2 separate regions of the Homo sapiens genome follow, and region 1 is linked to region 2. The links are contacts of gene promoters, found by promoter capture Hi-C in blood cells and fetal thymus (Javierre and others, 2016). All regions are on one chromosome and are shown on one strand. Each heading gives the region's core, a stretch centred on a gene start or on the middle of the fragment in contact. The rest is flanking DNA. Distances are from core to core; before and after follow the strand shown. Region 1 overlaps KIF21B (kinesin family member 21B). Region 2 holds the start of CAMSAP2 (calmodulin regulated spectrin associated protein family member 2).

Evidence for each region. Contacts are between HindIII fragments. The CHiCAGO score rates a contact against its expected background, and 5 or more counts as called.
Region 1: a contact is called between a fragment that was not itself captured here and the fragment with the promoter of CAMSAP2 in region 2, in 1 of 17 cell types (activated CD4 T cells). The highest score is 6.3, in activated CD4 T cells.

The regions. Positions count from the first base shown.
Region 1 is chr1:201,017,860-201,021,229 of GRCh38, reverse strand. The region is part of intron 1 of KIF21B (kinesin family member 21B); the gene reads left to right. Among named protein-coding and RNA genes, the nearest start is that of KIF21B, 4.2 kb to the left of the region's middle. RefSeq lists a silencer at 1-139 and enhancers at 1,290-1,389, 1,495-1,789. The HindIII fragment of the contact is 1,245 bases long and covers 1,101-2,345 here.
Region 2 is chr1:200,737,214-200,740,591 of GRCh38, reverse strand. It overlaps CAMSAP2 (calmodulin regulated spectrin associated protein family member 2), which reads right to left and starts at 1,699. Exons shown (of 17, transcript NM_203459.4): 1 at 626-1,699. The coding sequence starts at 764. RefSeq lists silencers at 890-959, 990-1,349 and an enhancer at 1,990-2,069. The HindIII fragment of the contact is 5,817 bases long and covers 1-3,378 here.

The DNA.
Region 1 (3,370 bases), core at 474-2,973, 280 kb before region 2:
AGGACTGAGCTGGGGCTGGGCTGGGCTGGGAAGGAGAGCAGATGGTACCAGTGATGGGCTGTAGGGGGAGTTTTCCTTGTTTTTAGATCCTCTTCTACCCATCCTCCCCCGCAGCACCCCCAGAAATCACTTCTCTCACCTGAAAGACTGGGTGGTGGGCTGCACTACAGTAGACCATTTATGGGAAGGGCAAGGCTTGTCCAGGGCCTAGTCCAGCCCCAGGGCTCACTACCTCCTGCCAGGTTCAGCTGTCTTTCTGACTTTCTGGAAGTCCTTTCTTGAATCCAACTGAAGTGCCTTCTGAATTTCCATGAGAATAACATAGCGAGCCTGGAGTCCAGCTCTTCAGACAGGGAAGGCCAGGAATGAGACAGGTGTGGTCTGATTGTGTGTGTGTGTGTGTGTGTGTGTGTGTGTGTGTAGAGGAGAGAGGTCCCAGGGCTATTAGACTAGGTGAGAAGTGCCAGGCCTAAGGCTCTTGGCCCTGCAATCTGTTTGGGATGAAGAGATCGAAGCTGGCTGGCTGTGAAACGCTTCAGTGAAGGCCTGGGCTCCTGGAGAGCCGGAGGAGGAAACTTTCAGGACCTGGGGCTCAGGGTAAGGGAAGAAAGTTCAGGGGTGAGCAGACCCCAAAAGCCCCACCTTGTGGCCTCCCCAGCTAGATGGAATCTGGCCCATCTGTCCCTGAACCCAGGCTAGTCGGCTTTGCACCAAGGGATTCCCAGGCTGGCCTCTCCAGCCTGCCCTGTGATCCCTTTATCCATTAATCCCCTTGTACTGTAAAGATTCTCAGCTTCCTGGGCTGGACTAGAACTGGCAGTCACCTGGGGGAGGAGGTGTGTAGCAAGGCTAGAGAGAGGTGGGGCGGAGCTGTGACCTGCCCCAGGCTGCAGAGATATAGGCCTGACAAATGGGGCGAGAAAGGGGTAGCTGTTAAGAAATGCAAGTTGGCAAAGTTGAAATTGGGGAAGGAAGCTAAGTCACATGGCAAATTTGTTTAAGACCCTTTCAAGTCCCCAGCTCTGAGCCCCCACCATGAGGGGAGACCTCAGTGTTGCCTAGCCCCCTCCCCTCTTATCTCTGCCTGGCTTCCCTAAGCTTCCTTCCTTTAGTCTGCTTGGCGGTGCTTGGCCAGCCCAGCATCCATCTGTTGATACTACAGGGTTAAGTAGGGGATAGGTAGGGGTTTGGGGGGGATCCAAGGGACCCAAGGGACAATGTTAGATTGCACCCCAGCCCTCTCCCATTTGGGTTCTCTAGCTGCAGTTATTTCCCTAGTTCTAGGCTACTCTGAAATCTTGGTCAATGACTGTCTGAATTTTGAACCAAGAGCAGTGGTGGCTTGGGAGAGAAAGACTGAAGAAGACAGAAGAAACTGTGGGGGAATGGGTATTTGGGGTGCCTTCCGAGTCCCAAAGCCAGTCAATGCCAATCAATGCCACCTGTGTCCAGTTTACAGATCTCAGAAACTGAGGCCCATACAGGGCCTCATGTGGGCTGTGTGGAGACCTGAGAATCTTGGTGGTGGCCTCCTGCTGCAGAAATAGGGTTTATGTCATCATAAGGAAGTGGAGTGTAGTAACCACAGGCCCCGGAAACCTCCCCCTCCACCACCCAGCCTGCCTGCCTGATTGGATCTCAGCTTTTGAAAACCTCCAAGTGGAGGTGAGGCGGGGCCCAGGCCTGGGCCAGGGAGGTGGCAGAGGTGATATGTGCCTGGCATGCTTATTTTTGCAACCCTGGGGGCAAAGGGCAGGGCAGGAACTGATGCAATTCATCCACTGGCTTCGTCATGGGGCACCTTCCCTGTTTGTCTTTTGTGGGCCTCAGTTTTACCCACTGGAAAATGGGAACTGCTGTGTTCTGGTTTGTTCATTTGTGAAGAGCAGTGGCTTGGAGGAAGACGGACATAAAATCTTTGGAGGGAACAAAATGCAGAGTAGATTCCTGAGGAATTGAATATAAATAAAATGTTTTTTTAAAAAAAATGGGTCCTAGGCCAGGCGCAGTGGCTCATGACTGTGATCCCAGCACTTTGGGAGGCTGAGGCAGGTGGATCACAAGGTCAGGAGTTCAAGACCAGCCTGACCAATATGGTGAAGCTCCATCTCTACTAAAAATACAAAAATTAGACGGACATGGTGGCGCATGCCTGTAGTCCCAGCTACTCAGGAGGCTGAGACAGGAGAATCACTTGAACCTGGGAGGCGGAGGTTGCAGTGAGCTGAGATCGCACCACTGCACTCCAGCCTGGGTGACTAAGCAAGAATCTTTCTCAAAAATAAAATAAAATAAAATGGGCCCTAATGTAAGTGTACCTAAGAGATGTCTCTGTAGTTTAAGCTTTAGTGAACTATTTAGTAAATTGAATTCACCTCCAGTCCTTTGATTAATATATTAATTTAGAGCAGAATGCATGGTGTGGTGGAGAGGAGTATGAACCAGGAGGTGGCTAAGCACTATAATGTATTGAACACTTACTCTGTGCCTACAGCATCCCATTCAGCTGGCTAGGTGATTGATGTTATTCCCATCATATAGATGCACAAACACAGGTGGCAAATGGAGGAGGCTGGATTTGAACCCAGGGTATTCTCAGTTGTGAACACATGCTCTTCATGCAACTCTAAGCTGCCTCCTAATTGAGGTGCTAATTAGCTGTGTTCTTGAAGTCTCTATGCCTCAGTTTCTTCAAATGCTTTACTACACACAGTGGCCGTGAACATGAATGTGGGAAAGTGAAAATGGAAAGGCACATGGTGCTGTGCAGATGTGTGGCAGGGCTGAGGCTGTCCAGATTCTCCTGTATGGGATTGCTTAGCAGCATGGGGCTGCCTGGCACCACCATGGTCCTAGCTCCTAAATCCGTGCTGTCATCGTTTGTGTTTGGGGAGCTTCTCCAGCCACATTCTCCCTTTCTTAGATCACTGCAGCCATCCCTGGCATGTGTCTTCCTGCCTGAATTCCACCTTGGCACTCTCTCAGGAAGGATATTCTGGGGGCAGCCAAGTCTTTTGCTGGCCCCCCACCTCACACACACCAAAGGGCGGAACCCCATGTGTGCTAGGTCTCCTAGCCTTTCATTTTACCCTCTAGAAAGTATTGAGAACATTGAGGAGGAAAGCAATGTCTTCTGTGCCCCTCCCTCTTAGAACAGCCAGAGGGGCACTGAGAGGGCCCTGGGCTGGGTGGGGGTCAGAGGTTGCTTCCCTGCCATGAGGGAAGCTGGACTGGAACGGCTCTTCCTTGGCCCCAGAGATCCACCCACCTCAATCCCTATGTGAAGCTCCAGGGCAGGCGGCAGCAGTGTTGGCTGCAGTACCCTGTTTCTGGAGGACTTTCTCTTTCACCTCCAGCTGCTCTGGGGTGT
Region 2 (3,378 bases), core at 450-2,949:
GATAATATGAAATGAAAACTGCACCCTACAGTCAGCAAACTGAACGCTGGTTTTAAATAACTGATTTAATAAGAACTTAACATGCGTGCAGAAGGCTGATACAGCCTTAAAGAATGACAACAAAAATTAATACTGCACTCGACACAGGCCACCTTACATCCAACGGAGCCTGAATAGCAGCCATCATTACAAATGTCAAAATCAATATAGTACTATGCACCATCCACCTTCTTGCAATAATAAAGAAACCAACTCAGATTTCTTGGTGGTGTAATCACAATTATGACTGAGGCAGAAATGTACGCAACACAATGAAGAAAATACCACAAATCAAAACCACTCTATGTAAAAACATAAAATTGCTCACTGGGGGATGGGGGGGACATTTTGCCATCCAATAAAAGGAATCTGGCCAAATCCCACCTGACCATTCACGTGCCCTTCATTGAAGACCAAACCTGCTTTCCTTATTTCTCCTTTCTTTCTCTTCCTAGCCTCCCATCATCTCCCTTAACCTGTACGAGAAGACAGGCACGGGGAGGGAGGGATTCGAGAATCGGGAACAAAAACCGAGATGTGGACCACATCAGGAGGAAGAGGGGAGGGAAAGGGTGACACCACTAACCTGTCCCAAAGGCTTTGGCCACCAGCCAGGCCAGATTGCAGGCGATTTTGGCCCTGGAGAAATCATAGTGGTCAAAAGGCTTGATGGCTGGAACAATGAACGTCTTTCTCATCTCCCTGGGGTCTGCAGCATCCCCCATCTTTCACCGCGGCTCCTCGGGATGTCCCGGCCCTAACCTTCACATGGCGTGGCCTCGCCACCACGGGGGTCGGGAGGGAGGGAGAAGCAAGCTCAAACCATCGGGGCCCGGGCGATGTCCGCCCGGGCGCCGACGGAGGAGAAGCTCAGCTGTCCGCGCCGCGCGCCTGCCGCCTCCCGCGGGAGCCGCCGCCGCCGCCGCCGCCGCTCCCGGGCATAGGAATGTGGCGGCGCCGTCTCCGTCCGTCCGTCCGCGCGAGGTCCGCCCCGTGCCCGCGCCCCTCCGAGCCACCCGCCCCGCGAGCCCGCGTGTGAGCGAGGCCGCCTCCCCTTTGTCTCGGTTTAGTCACACGGGCTTGGGGGAGGGTGGAGGCTGGAAGGGCCCGGAATTTTAAGGGAGGGGGGATGGGGGGAGCCTTCAACAATCACGTTGTGGAAAATGTCCCCGCCATCGCGATGCCCGCACGCCCTCGCCTCCCTCTCCCCTTCCCTCGGAGCGGGGAGACCCCTCAGGCCCCGGGTGGGCGGAGGGACGAGCAGGACGAGGGGGAAGCGCGGGGCGAGCTGGCCCACCCAGCGCAGCCCGGCCCCTGCCCGCCGGAGACGCAGCAGCGGAAAACGTCAAAATCACTGCGGCTCACAGGCCGCCGCCGGCCCGTCCCCTCCTCTGTGCTCCCTCCCGTCGCCGTCTCCTCCTTCCCCTGCCGCCGTCGCCGCTGCCGTCTCCCGGGTCTTCCTCCCTTGCTGACGGCGAAGGTGGTGGCCGGGGAGAGGCCGCGAATCCCAAGCTCTCAGTTCCTGTCTTATCAGTAATGTCCTTGTAATTTTTTCCTGCCCCCCTTTCTGCAGCTCGCTGGATCGTTCCCCCTCAGCCGCCGCCGCCGCCGCTGCGGTTTTCCGGCTGCGGCACTGGATGAAGGAGCAGATGCGGAGACTGAGCATGCGCCTTCGCGCGGCTCCGACCCACCCCCCCCAACCCCCGCCCCCGCCCCCGCCCCCTCCCCGCTTCCCTCCCGTCTCCGGCCCACTGAGCATGCCCAGCCTCGCTCCCCGCCCGCGCCCGGGATTCGGGGCGGCTGCCTTTTAATCATCGCTCTGGAGTACTCGCTTCAGTGGACATCCTCCACGTCCCTGGCTTTTGGCTGCTGCTGCCTGCACTGCTGAGAGAGGAAAAGGAAGGGAGGGAGGAGGGAGAGGCCTGGCAATAGCTTTCGTATTCTACTTACACAGTGCTTCATCGAAAAGAGTTGATATTTACTTAAAATGTTCATTATGTGACACACACTTTGCAGCGAACTTGACCTGCACTATCTCATTTAGCCCTCGCAATAATCCTGAGAGGTAGATGTCATTGCTGATTGTCCACGAAAGAGAGGTGGAGTTGATTAGGTCATACATGGAACTTAACCAGGATTGAGGATCTGTGGGGGCTCCAAACCTGTGTTAATTTCATGATATCGAGATATTTTCTTAACTCAGTGCTCTCCACTTAAATTTTATCTCTGAGAGGGCACACGTCCAACAATGCCTCCCCATTCTCTCAGAAAAGAGCATAAATTCTTTCACAAAACAAGCTAATGCCCTTTGTGATCTGGCATCTACAGGCCTTTATAGCTTCATTTTGTCAGAACTGCTCTCTATTTTCTTCAATGAGCATGCCTTCTCAGATCTCTACCTCCTTGCTCAGGGTGGTTCCTCTGTCCACCCAGCTTACTCCTACTGCACCTTCAAACTCCACAGTAGTCACTTCCTCCATGAAGCCTTCCCTGACAGCTGCTGACAACTTTCCAGTCAGGGCTGTCACACAGGTGCCTCCCCTGTTGTTCCCGGAGCACCCTGTTCTTATTTCTGTCGTAGCATCTGTCACATCGTGTGGCAATAATCAGTTACTTGTCGGTTTTTCCCATTGATGACATGATGACAGGGTATATCTCCAGCAGCTATACGGTGCCCAGCCCCATAGTATAATTGCTCAATTAATGGACTACATGTGAATATTATCAAAGTTAACACATACTGAGCTTACTTAAATCACTAGCTCCTCACGTCTCATTTTAATACATTATCTAATTTTATTTTTAAGTGATTGTTGTTGTTATTATTATTATTATTGAGACGGAGTCTTGTTAAGTCGCCCAGGCTGGAGAGTGGTGGCAAGATCTCAGCTCAGTGCAATCTCCACCTTTAGGGCTCAAGCGATTCTCCTGCCTCAGCCTCCTGAGTAGCTGGGACTACAGGCGCGCACCACCACGCCCAGCTGATTTTTTGTGTATTTAGTAGAGATGGGGTTTCACCATGTTGACCAGGCTGCTCTCGAACTCCTGACCTCAGGTGATCCGCCAACCTCAGCCTTCCAAAGCGCTGGGATTACAGATGTGAGCCACTGCGCCCAGCCTATTATTATTATTTTTTGAGACAGGGTCTTGCTTTGTTGCCCTGGCTGGAATACAATGGCAAAATCACAGCTCACTGCAGTCTCAACCTCCCAGGCTCAAGCAATCCTCCCATCTCAGACTCCCATATAGCTGGGATTACAGGCACACATCACCACACCCAGCTAATTTTGTTTATTTTTTGTAGAGATGAGGTCTCCCTATGTTGCCCAGGCTAGTCTC